Linked DNA regions of Homo sapiens: region 1 is linked to region 2. Evidence: promoter capture Hi-C in human tissues and cell types (Jung and others, 2019). All regions are on one chromosome and are shown on one strand. The core of a region is centred on a gene start or on the middle of the fragment in contact, and the rest is flanking DNA. Distances in the headings are between cores, read along the strand shown. Region 1 overlaps STAT2 (signal transducer and activator of transcription 2). Region 2 holds the start of PMEL (premelanosome protein).

Evidence for each region. Contacts are between HindIII fragments. The study calls those that stand out against the background at their distance.
Region 1: a contact is called between a fragment that was not itself captured here and the fragment with the promoter of PMEL in region 2, in 1 of the 25 tissues and cell types used here (hippocampus).

What each region holds. Positions count from the first base shown.
Region 1 is chr12:56,351,897-56,358,495 of GRCh38, forward strand. It overlaps STAT2 (signal transducer and activator of transcription 2), which reads right to left. Exons shown (of 24, transcript NM_005419.4): 2 at 4,545-4,682; 3 at 4,236-4,389; 4 at 3,812-3,907; 5 at 3,547-3,636; 6 at 3,380-3,455; 7 at 2,882-2,967; 8 at 2,570-2,718. The coding sequence starts at 4,675. It also overlaps the pseudogene RNU7-40P. Among named protein-coding and RNA genes, the nearest start is that of STAT2, 4.9 kb to the right of the region's middle. The HindIII fragment of the contact is 6,015 bases long and covers 1,059-6,599 here.
Region 2 is chr12:55,962,475-55,968,694 of GRCh38, forward strand. It overlaps PMEL (premelanosome protein), which reads right to left and starts at 3,568. Exons shown (of 11, transcript NM_001384361.1): 1 at 3,462-3,568. The coding sequence starts at 3,537. CDK2 (cyclin dependent kinase 2) reads left to right here and starts at 4,356. Exons shown (of 7, transcript NM_001798.5): 1 at 4,356-4,650; 2 at 5,383-5,460; 3 at 5,575-5,695. The coding sequence starts at 4,535. RefSeq lists an enhancer at 4,047-4,126. The HindIII fragment of the contact is 17,930 bases long and covers 1-6,220 here.

The DNA.
Region 1 (6,599 bases), core at 2,816-5,315, 390 kb after region 2:
TGTTTTTTTTTTTTAGACAGTCTCACTCTCTTGTCATCCAGGCTGGAGTGCAATGGTGTGATCTTGGCTCACTGCAACCTCCACCTCCTGGATTCAAGAGATTCTCCTGCCTTGGCCTCCCGAGTAGCTGGGATTACAGGTATGTGCCACCACGCCCGGCTAACTTATATATATATATTTTTAGTAGAGACGGGGTTTTGCCATGTTGGCCAAGCTGGTCTTGAACTCCTGACCTCAGGTGATCCGCCCACCTTGGCCTCCCAAAGTGCTGGGATTACAGGTGTGAGCCACTGCACCCAGCCCCAACTCACATTTTTAACTACTGTACTTTACTGTCTCTATAATTAAAAATAATAATAATCAGCAATGTGGTGACAGGAAAACAACCATACACTACACATGAGAAAATAGATTCGATTGGGACAACTATTCTGGGAAACATTTGTAACTATCTTTTTTTTTTTTTTTTTTTTTTGGTGGGGGTGGGGGTGGGGGTGGTTTCTGGCAAAAACCTGAAAGCCTGCTAGACAAATCCTAAAAGAGCTGTAACACTTGGAACTATCTTTTAAAAAGCCTCGCCAGCTGACATGGTGGCTCACACCTGTAATCTCAGCACTTTGGGAAGCAAAGGTGGGCAGATCACTTAAGGCCAGGCACTCCAGCCTGGGAGACAGAGAGAGACCCTGTCTCAATCAATCAATCAATCAATCAATCAATGCATGCATGCATGCATGCTGGTCCTGTACCATAAGTACTATATGCCTGTTTTTCAATCTACCTGAGCAATTGTGGTATTTTTTTAATCTACTTTTTTTTTTTTTAAGAGGTGAGGGTCTTGCTATATTGCTCAGGCTGACATCAAACTCCTGGACTCAAGCACTCTTTCTGCCTCAGCCTCCTCAGTAGCTGGGTATTATGGTATGTGTACATATATACTTTTAGAGACAGGGTCTCGTTCTGTTGTCCAGGCTGGACTACAGTGGTATAATCATGGCTCACTGCAGCCTCCAACACCTGGGCTCAAGCAATCCTCCCACCTCAGCCTCCTGAGTAGCTAGGGACTACAGGCGTGTGCCACCATGCCTAATCTTTTTTTTTTTTTTTTGAGACGGAGTCTCGCTCTGTCACCCAGGCTGGAGTACAGTGGCATGATCACAGCTCACTGCAACCTCTGCCTCCCGAGTTCAAGTGATTTTCCTGCCTTAGCCTCCTGAGTAGCTGGGAATACAGGCATGCGCCACCACACCTGGCAAATTTTTGTATTTTTAGTAGAGATGGGGTTTCACCACATTGGCCAGGCTGGTCTTGAACTCCTGACCTCAAGTGATCCACCCACCTTGGCCTCCCACAGTGCTGGCCACATGTGTGAGCCACTGTGTCCGGACATGCCTAATTAAAAAACAAATTTTTTTTTTTTGTAGAGATGGGGTCTTGTTATGTTTCCCGGGCTGGTCTCAAACCCCAAGACTGAAGTGATCCTCCTGCCTCAGCCTTCCAAAGTACTAGGATAACAGGCATGAGACGCCATGCCTGGCCTGGTATATTTCTAAAAGACTAAATTATAATAAATTTTTAAATGAGAAAATATTGAAAACAGTAGGTATTTTTCAAGTATGTTGGAGGACACACTAGTGATTTTTCTACAACACAATATAATTACCATAAAATATAGCGTTTCCTGGAAAAAGGTAACAAGAAATTGAAAATAACCTAAATAGCTGAAAATAGGAGTTCATTAATTAAATTATGTTACCACCATATAGGGGACTGTTGTGTGGACATAAGAAATAACATGGATAAATATAATATACTGTTGGCCGGGCATGGTGGCTCACGCCTGTAATCCCAGCACTTTGGGAGCCCAAGTTGGGTGGATCACCTGAAGTCAGGAGTTTGAGACCAGCCTGGCCAACATGGAGAAACATCGTCTCTACTAAAAATACAAAAAAACTAGCCAGGCATGGTGGTGTGTGCCTGTAATCCCAGCAACTCGGGAGGCTGAGACAGGAGAATTGCTTGAACCTGGGAGTTGGAAGTTGCAGTGAGCTGAGATCGTGCCACTGCGCTCCAGCCTGGGCAACAGAGAGAGACTCCGTCTCAAAAAAAAAAAAAAAAAAAAAATATATATATATATATATATATATAAAAAATACTGTTAAGCTTAAAAAAAACCCCATGGATTTCAAAATAGTATGGACAATATGATTCCATTTTTGTTTAATAAGCTAGGTAATAGGTAATTTTCTCTTCCTCCTTCCTTCCTTCCTTTCTTGTCATTGTATTCGTTGCAGTAAAAAAAAAAATACATATATATATATTTCTGGGTGATTAAAAAAGAAGGAAAAACCAGATTGTGGGTTAATTCATTCCTTTCCCTGAAGGAGACTGGGCTCTGGGCTCCCTGCGTGGTGAGGATGAGGAGCAGAATAGAGCTGCAGTCAGCAGGGAGCAGGGCTCATTCTGGGGAGCAGAGACAAATAGAGAACAGTATCTCTTGCTATATGCAGGGCACTGCAACTTACAAATCACAGCGCATGGCGAGGACGAGGGTTGGGGTGGTACCTCTCACCATGTCTCCAGCTGTTCCAACCCGTGGTCAATGGGAGCTCTGATGCAGGCTTTTTGCTGCTGGGCCTTCCACTCCTCCAACTTTGGCAGCAGTAGCTCGATTAGGGTAGTTAATCGGCCTAGCAGTGCTTTGGAGGCATCCAGCACCTCCTGGGAAAGAGATAATGTGAGTGTTGAGCATCTCTCCCTTTCACCCTCCACCACCCAACTGGGGATGAAGAAACAAAGAAGCCAGCGCTAGAGGACCAGGGTCCCCACATCCCTCATTTTTCCAGGTCCTTGTTGCCCACATGTTCTGTCCTCTGTCTCCCACCTTTCTCCTTTTGTCCAGTTCATTGAGAGTTTCCTGCAGAATCTTCTGCTCTTTGGTCTGATGGGGGTCCAGAGAGGGTGTCTTCCCTGGATGGTGGGAACAGGAGTCAGTCCAGGGGTTCTTTCCTCTCCTTCCTGACTGGGGTCTCAGTCAGAGTCAGGAAGGAGGAATTTTGTGGAGGAAGAAAGGGAAACCAAGCAAAGCACAGGCACCTGTGGGACCCTCAGGCAAATTCTGAATGGTCATGCTTGGACCAGACACCCCCTCAAATAAAACACTGTTAGTTTTCCATGCATTTCCTCAACATTTACTGTCTCTCAGCTGCACCTCCAGCTCAGCCTCCACAAAGCACTTCCAGCTTTGCACGGCAGCAGGACTGTAGTCAGTGGGGTGTGTCTGACAGTGACTACTGCTCATCGGAGCTTTCTCCTGTTCACTTCCAGCTCCGGCTTCTCAGCAGGCACTTATCTTTCTCCAGCCCCTCAATGTGCTTCCTACCTTTGGCCTGGATCTTATATCGGAAGCAGAAGACATCCTGCTGGTCTTTCAGTTGGCTGATGGATTTTACCAGCTTCTGCAGAGGGGAGAGGACCCCGATGAGGCTGCTTCTCAGGGAGGTGTTAGGCTGAACGCTGTCAACCCTAACTCCTACCACATCTACTAACCTCCATCATAGCCCTTAAATCCAGGATCCGGGATTCAATCTCATGTTGCTGGCTCTCCACAGGTGTTTCGAGAACTGGCTCTCCTTGTTCCTGAAAAAAGAGGCTCTGAGCACGTTTTAACTCTGGCCTTTCATGCCTTAAGTTCAGGCCTGAAATTATACCACAGGATGTCGGGGGGATCCTGTTCTGAGACAACTCCCTGAGTCCTTTCCATGGTTCCTCTCTACTTCAGGAGTTTCCAACATTACCACTGAATTGTCCTCACCAATTGGGCCCTCTGAGCCTGGATCAAAATTCTTTTTTCTTCCAGAAGGAGGTTAAAGATCATCTCAGCCAACTGGGTAGGATCCTGGGAAAAGGGCTAGAATAGGTAAACAGAAAGGATTGATCCAATTCAACCACTCTCAATGACCTATTGCCCTAGACCCTCCCCACCAATGTCCACAGTATTTCCTCCTCCTTCGGGGTTCTTAGCCCTTTGTCTTTTCACCATAGCATCCTCCCAACAGTGTCACGTATATGCAACCCTTCTCTCTGCTAGTGATTCCCCAAGTCCAGACTCTGTCCTCCTTTCCCCACATTTGTTCCCGTCTCCCTTTCCACCTCCAGGTACTATTCTATTCTCCAAACCTTACTCCTCTATGCTCAGCTCCCAGTGCTACCCCATCACTCCCAACCGTTCCAAGTACCTGAATGTCCCGGCAGAATTTCCGCAAATTGTGCTGCAGCAACAAGGACTCTGGGTCCTGGCTGCAACGGCCACACTCATAGTTCAGCTGATCCAAGAAGTGGAAGAATAGCATGGTAGCCTTGGAATCATCACTCCCAAGTGCAGCTTCCTGCCTGGGCACCAGGAATAAGAAGTATTAGTGTCTCTGCAGTGTTACTGTAGTCCTGAGGCTTTCCAACCCCTTCCTGCCATTAATGATTCCAGGATCCCGGGGGCCCAGAAGTAAGGAACCACCTTTTTCATTCCCCCAACTTCCTGAAGGCCTCACCAGTTCTGGTCTTCAATCCAGACAGCCAAGTACTGTCGAATGTCCACAGGCAGGAGGCTGTGCGAGTAAAGCTGGTGCAGCTGATCCTGAAAGGGGCTGTCAAGATTCTGCAGCATTTCCCACTGCGCCATTTGGGCTCTGCGTCAGAAGGATGAGGGTTCCCAATTGGATATTTTGCTGGACTAAATCATCCATAGTTTCATGATTGTTCATTATTACTAATTTAAAATGTTTAAATTATACAAGTAATAAAAATACAGAAAACATTAAAATATATGTTGATCCTACTGCTAATCTTGGTTCTTTCCCCTCCTCTCCAGAAGTAACCACTGCTATCAGTTTGGTGCATATTCTTCCAGGGAGTGCTACCAGTTGAGTATCTGCTATTCCAAGCATTTTGGATTTCAGATTTGTCCAGATTTTGGAATATCTGCATTACTTACCAGTCGAGCATCCCTAATCCAAAACTCTGAAATCTGAAATGGTCCAAAATCTAACTTTTTGAGCACCCACATGACACTCAAAGGAAATGCTCACTGGAGCATTTTGGAGCCAAATTTTTCAGATTAGGAATGCCTAATCTGTATTTTTTTTTTTTTTTTTTTTTTTTTTTTAAGATGGACTCTCACTCTTTTGCCTGGGCCGGAGTGAAGTGGCATGATCTTGGCTCATTGCAACCACCATCCCCCTGGTTCAAGTGATTCTTCTGCCTCAGCCTCCTGAGTAGCTGGGATTACAGGCACCCACCACCACGCCCAGCTAATTTTTGTATATTTTTTAGTAGAGATGGGGTTTTGCCATGTTGGCCAGGCTGGTCTCAAACTCCTGACCTCAGGTGATCCACCTACTTCGGACTCCCAAAGTACTAGGATTACAGGCATGAGCCACTGTGGTCCCAACCTGTATTTTTTTTTTCTTCAGATGGAGTCTCGATCTGTTGCCCAGGCTGGAGTGCAGTGGTGTGATTTTGGCTCACTGCAAGCTCCGCCTCCCGGGCTCATGCCATTCTCCTGCCTCAGCCTCCCGAGTAGCTGGGACTATAGGCTCCCGCCACCATGCCCGGCTGATTTTTTTTTTTGTATTTTTAGTAGAGATGGGGTTTCACCGTGTTAGCCAGGATGGTCTCGATCTCCTGAACTCGTGATCTGCCTACCTCGGCCTTCCAAAGTGCTGGGATTACAGGCGTGAGCCGCTGTGCCCAGCCGGCCCCAACCTGTATTTTAATAGCTTCAATAAGTGGGCCTTTGTGCTTTAATGGGAATTTTCTTTCTTTTTTTTTTTTTTTTTTTGAGACAGGGTCTCACTTGGTCACCCAGGCTGGAGTGCAGTGGCATGATCTTGGCTCACTGCAGCTTTGACCTCTCAGGTTCAAGCCATTCTCTGCCTCAGCCCCTCAAGGAGCTGGGACTACAGGAGTGTGCCATCATGCCAGCTAATTTTTTGTAGAGATGGGATTTTGCCATGTTGCCCAGGCAGATCTCAAACTCCTGAGCTCAAGTAATCCGCCTGCCTCAGCCTTCCAAAATGCCGGGATTAACAGGCATGAGCCACCATAACCAGCCTAATGGTAATTTTCAAATACACACTAGAGTAGAGTGAATAGTACAAGGATCACCATCCAGCTTTAACAAACATTACTATTTCCACAATCTTATTTCATCTATCTCCCTAATTCATTTATTTTGCATTTATGTGTGTGTTTGTTATTTATATTTGATTGTGCTAAAGCATTTAAAGATCAGTGTTGATGTTAAGTATTTATTACAGCATGATCCCTGCTGGCTCTGAAGCTTTTTTTTTTCTTTTTTTTTTTTTCTTTTTTTGAGATGGAGTCTTGCTCTGTCACCCAGGCTGGAGTGCAGTGACACGATCTCGGCTCACTGCAAACTCTGCCTCCCGAGTTGAAGGGATTCTCCTGCCTCAGCCTCCCGACTAGCTGGGATTACAGGCGCCCACTACCATGCCCAGCTAATTTTTGTATTTTTAGTAGAGATGGGGTTTCACCATATTGTCCAGGCTGGTCTGGAACTTCTGACCTCAGGTGATCTGCCCACC
Region 2 (6,220 bases), core at 2,318-4,817:
AAAAAACCCCTTATTTATTTGTTTATTTATTTATTATTACTCTTTTTTTTTTTTTTTTTTTTTTTTTGAGATGGAGTCTCGCTCTGCCCCCTAGGCTGGAATGCAGTGGCGTGATCTTGGCTCACTATAGCCTCCGCTTCCTGGATTCAAGCAATTCTCGTTCCTCAGCCTCCCAAGTAGCTGGGACTACAGGCACCCACCACCACACCCAACTAATTTTTGTATTTTTAGTTTCGCCATGTTTCATGGTTTCTCCATGTTGGCCAGGTTTGTCTCAAACTCCTGACCTCAAGTGATCCAACCGCTTCGGCCTCCCAAAGTGCTGGGATTATAGGCGTGAGCCACTGCGCCTCGCCTGTTTTGTTTTAAATCAAGACATAATTCACATACCATAAAATTTACTTTTAGCCAGGCATGGTGGCTCACATCTGTAATCCCAGCACTTTGAGAGGCCGAGGCAGGTGGATCACAAGGTCAGGAGTTCGAGACCAGCCTGGCCAAGTGAAACCCTGTCTCTACTAAAAATACAAAAATTAGCCGGGCGTGGTAGTGGGCACCTGTAGTTCCAGCTACTCAGGGGGCTGAGGCAGGAGAATTGCTTGAACCCAGGAGGCGGAGGTGGCAGTGAGCCGAGATCACACCACTGCACTCCAGCCTGGGCTACAGAGCAAGACTCCGTCTCAAAAAAAAAAAAAAATTTACTTTTGAACATGATCAAATTTGTGTTTTAGAAAGATCACGATGGCAAGCAGTGAGGAGGATGGATTAGAGGCTGGCAGAGATTGGGGATGGGGACAGGGAAGACAAAATTATTGTAACTGACCAAGAGAGGTCTGAGAAGAAAAGGATATGCTGGACCTCCATCTGCCCCACCCAGGTCCAACAACTATCAACACCTTGCCACATTTGCTTTGTTTATCCTTACTAGTTGTTGTTTTTGTTTTTGTTTTGGCTAAAGTATGTAAAAGCAAATCCCAGACATCGTGTTATTTTAACCCTACAAATTTAAAATGTATGAGTATTTTCTTGCATAAGCACAATGTCATTTCATGCTAGACAAAATTATCAAACTCAGTCCATATAAAATTTCATGAATATCTGGAAAAATGTCTTATGATTTTTAAAATCAGGATCCAAAATATAAGTACAGTCTTTTTGTTAAGAGCCTTAGGTGGGTGGGTGTGAACAGACTCTTTCCAGGATACATTAAGGAATATAGTAAAAGAAAAAGACTTGAAACTGCAGCACAGCGAGGAAAGTCACATCAAGGAGAACTTCCTAGAAATCTGTGACACTAAACATCTAGGGAGAAAGCAGGGCTGGGATATAATGTATGTATTTCAGCACAGCAGAAACTACCCTCACCCCATTTTTCCCTTTCCTGCAGAAACCTCTCTCCCCTCCCCTTCCCTCCCCTCTCCTCTCCTTTCTGTATATAGTTCAGCACAGCAAAAACTACCCTCACCCCATTTTTCCCTTTCCTGCAGAAACTTCCTTCCCTTTCCTTTCCCTTTCCCCTTTCCTTTCCTTTTGATACAGGGTTTTGCTCTCTCACCCTGCGTGCAGTGGCACGTTCATCACTCACTGCAGCCTCAAACTCCTAGGCTGAAGCCATCTTCCTCATTAGCCTCCCAAGTGGCTAGGACCACAGGTGCTCACCACCAAGCCTGGCTAATTTTTTTTTTTTTTTTTTTTGAGACAGAGTTTCGCTCTTGTTGCCCAGGCTGGAAGGCTGGAGTACAATGGCACGATCTCAGCTTACTACAACCTCCGCCTCCCGGGTTCAAGCGATTCTCCTGCCTCAGCCTCCTGAGTGGCTGGGATTACAGGCATGCACCACCACGCCCAGCTAATTTTGTATTTTTAGTAGAGACTGGGTTTCTCTATGTTGGTCAGGCTGGTCTCAAACTCCCAACTTCAGCTGATCCACCTGCCTTGGTCTCGCAAAGTGCTGGGATTACAGGCGTGAGCCACCAAGCCTGGCCTAGGCCTGGCTAATTTTTTTACGTTTCGTAGAGACAAGGTCTCACTATGTTGCTCAGGCTGGTCTTGAACTCCTGGGCTCAAGCAATCCTATGACCACGGCCTCCCAAAGTGCTGGGATTACAGGTGTGAGCCACTACACCCGGCCTCCTTATCTCTTTTCTTTTCTTTTCTTTTTTTATTTTTTTGAGACAGAGTCTTGCTGTTGCCCAGGCTGGAATGCAATGGTGTGATCTCGGCTCACTGCAACCTCTGCCTCCCAGGTTCAAGCGATTCTCATGCCTCGGCCTCCCAAGTAGTTGGGATTACAGGTGCGTACCACCATGCCCAGCTAATTTTTGTATTTTTAGTAGAGATGGAGTTTCACCATATTGGCCAGGCTGGTCTGACCTCAAGTGATCCACCCGTCTCAGCCTCTCAAAGTGCTAGGATTACAGGCATGAGTTACTGTGCCGGGCCTCATCCCCTTTCTTTTTTTTTTTTTTTTTGAGACGGAGACTCGCTCTGTCACCCAGGCTGGAGTGCATTGGTGTGATCTTGGCTCACTGCAACCTCTGCCTTCTGGGTTCAAGTGATTCTCCAGCCTCAGCCTTCTGAGTAGCTGGGACTACAGGCATGTGCCACCATGCCCAGCTAATTTTTGTACTTTTAGTAGAGACGGGGGTTTCACCATATTGGCCAGGCTGGTCTCGAACTCCTGACCTCGTGATCCACCTGCTTCAGCCTCCCAAAGTGCTGGGATTACAGGCGTGAGCCACGGCGCCCGGCCTCATTCCCTTTCTAATGTGTGCTGTAACCCTAGTTGATTCTGCTGGGGGAGGATCTGGAATCATCTATTGAGCATCCCACCACTAGAACAAGAGAAGTCATAAGATACCCCATTCTTTCTCCACTTCCAACTCTCCTCAGAGCAGCACGGGACATTCCAGACCCTCTCACCACCCCACCCCCGCCCCTTGCTCCTGTCACGAGGCCCAATCCCCCAGAGCCCTTTCATGTGATGCTCAGCTGAGACCCCTCTGCCTATCTCTCCAGCCCCAGAACAAAAGGTCTGGGCTGTGTTCACCCGTACCCATCCCAAGAGGAGAGGATTGTATCTCCTTAGTGTTCTTACCCAATACCACATTCTCTGACTCCCCACTTTAAATCTCCTACCCCAAGAGACGTTTCCTAAAAGAGTCTCCTGCACATTTCACCCCTTTGGAGCCCGTGCTCCAGCTCACTGCCAAGGAAGCCTCAGAATCAGTGCCACAGAGACCTTCTATCCTTCTGCCCCTCCAAGCATATGAGATTATTTTCAGGCAAAATCCCAAATCTCCATGTAGGGAGGGAGCCCAGGTGCCCACATCCTCACTAAATCAAATGAGTGGGAGACGCCTGAAATATTGCCGCTATCTCCCATTAGGAGGACAGAAACCAGAGCAGGGGGAATTCATCCCCAAGTTCACACCTGCTCATGTCCACATATCCACACATACCTTTTGTAGCCCCCACAGCCAGCAAAGCACCTATCACAGCCAAATGAAGAAGGCATCTTTTTAGCACCAGATCCATTGTGTTCTTCCCTCCAGCAACCAAAGGCACTGGGGGGACTGGGATAGGCCCCTATATAAGAAAAGGGTGCTCATTTGCATAGCCCTTCCTCTTCTCCCTCAGAGAAGGCCTGGGAGGGGCCGGAGGAGAGGAAAAAGGAAAAACTGACAAAGGGATCCTGGTCCCTAGACATTGCTTTCCCATCCTGCTACTCAATGACAGTTTCTGGTTTCACTGGGTCACTCTCATCTTGATGCACTCCCGGGCAAGAGCTAACTGAAAGGCAGCTGCGTAACACATACCAGACACAACAGTTTATCATGGGAGAGTGAATTAAACCAGGAACTTCTCAAAAAGACAGAAACAGAACCCTGCATCCCAAAACAGAGACAGTGTCGGGGTATGCTATGAGGCAGAGGCAACGACTCCTCTGAGGCCCAGGATTCCTTTGCAACGAGATTCCCGGCTTCCTGGTTTCCAAAGGAGGCTCCTGGGCCAGGTGGAATTTAACCTTAGGTCGATACATATTTTCCCCAGGATTGGTGAAAATAGTGAGTTAGAAATCAAGAAATCCCTACAGACTAGAGACATAGGTAGGAAACTTGGACCCAAAGCAGGTACTTGGGAAGAGTGTTCAGCCGCCCCACCGGGGAAGAAACTTGTCTAGCCCCCAAGAACCAAACTTGCCTGGGGCGGGATCATTTGCGGGGAGGAGCGCTGGGCTCGCCCCCCGGCTCTGACGTTGACCAATAGAAAGGCCTGGGGGCGGAGCCAGGGAAACGCGGGAAGCAGGGGCGGGGCCTCTGGTGGCGGTCGGGAACTCGGTGGGAGGCGGCAACATTGTTTCAAGTTGGCCAAATTGACAAGAGCGAGAGGTATACTGCGTTCCATCCCGACCCGGGGCCACGGTACTGGGCCCTGTTTCCCCCTCCTCGGCCCCCGAGAGCCAGGGTCCGCCTTCTGCAGGGTTCCCAGGCCCCCGCTCCAGGGCCGGGCTGACCCGACTCGCTGGCGCTTCATGGAGAACTTCCAAAAGGTGGAAAAGATCGGAGAGGGCACGTACGGAGTTGTGTACAAAGCCAGAAACAAGTTGACGGGAGAGGTGGTGGCGCTTAAGAAAATCCGCCTGGACACGTGAGTGGCCTCTGTACCCGGGACTCCTAACTGGGGACCTCCTTGATTGTCCCCCCCAACCCCCCACGGGCGGGTAGCCGTCCAGGGACCGGAAGAGAGCAGGGAGGGACTTCTTTAGAAGTGGAGAGGTGGGTTGGGGGCCAGTAGAAGGTGAAGAGTATACTTATACTCCCTGGGGAGAGTATAGGGTGGTGTGGAATCCATGGAAAACTTTCTTCCCAAACTGAGCCGGATCGTGCCCCCAAATGTGCGACTACAGACTCGGGGAGAGAAAGGAGGTCTCTGAGATGAGGTCCAAGACTCTCCATGGAGTGGAGTTATGTGGGAACCGGCGAGAATCGCCTTTCTGAATGAAGAGCCCTCTTCACTGCCCCACCCTCACCTTAGAATTCTCTCCTCTTTCCAAAGAATGGCAGTTGAACCTCACTGGCCCCTCTGGGGAGGCTGGGGGCTACTCCTGCATTTTTTCCCCTCCATTACAGTCTCCCTGCTTCACCTTCACCAGGCGGCTTTACTTACCTACCCCTGGGAAAAGAGGAGATAATGGCCTTAATATATCCAAAAACCACACCCTGACTACCCAAGAATTAGCTCTTACCATCACCCTTTCTCTTCTCTCACTTTCCTAGGGGGTGCTGGGTGGTGTCTCCTTGGGGGAAAGAAATGACTAGGTGGGGGGGAAAGGAATATTTGTAACCATATTCCCATCTCTGCTTTCCCAACCTCTCCAAGTGAGACTGAGGGTGTGCCCAGTACTGCCATCCGAGAGATCTCTCTGCTTAAGGAGCTTAACCATCCTAATATTGTCAAGTAAGTATGCGTCTGAGAGGTGATCCAGCTGGAAAGGAGGATAAGTTCTGTCTGTACAGTGTGGGCATTTCTCTCTCTCACACACCTCCATTTCCTCAAACTTTCCTTCTCTAGGCTGCTGGATGTCATTCACACAGAAAATAAACTCTACCTGGTTTTTGAATTTCTGCACCAAGATCTCAAGAAATTCATGGATGCCTCTGCTCTCACTGGCATTCCTCTTCCCCTCATCAAGGTAATGCTTCTCATCAGCTCCTCTCATCATGGGCATGTCTTGGGGGACTGGTGGCAGGCAATTCAGGGTGATATTTTATGATTTTGGCCTCCTTCTGAGCCCTCATCTCCTATACACACACACTCCCCTTCTTTTTGTGTCTCCTTCCCTGCTCATTATATTCATTAACCCTAGGGTTGGACTGAACAATCAAAGTTGAAACTCTAGTGAGTCAACCTAGCAACTCAGGTGGGAGGTCAGATGAAACTCAGATAAACGGGATTTGAGAGCACTTGGTAAATTCCTCCAAAAAGCCCTTCCATTTGGTGGAAGACCTAGCTAGTGAGTCCCTATTGTCTATTTTAGGGCTGGATTCTTCACTCCCAGAGCTACTTTCAATCTATTAACAAACATTTTTTCAATGCACAGGATGTAGAAAAGGGATGGAAAATTGAGTAAGACTTGGTCCTTATCCTCTCTGGGCTGACAGTCCATTGGGAGAAATAGCTTGTAAATATGTAACTATAATCCAACATAATAAAGGCT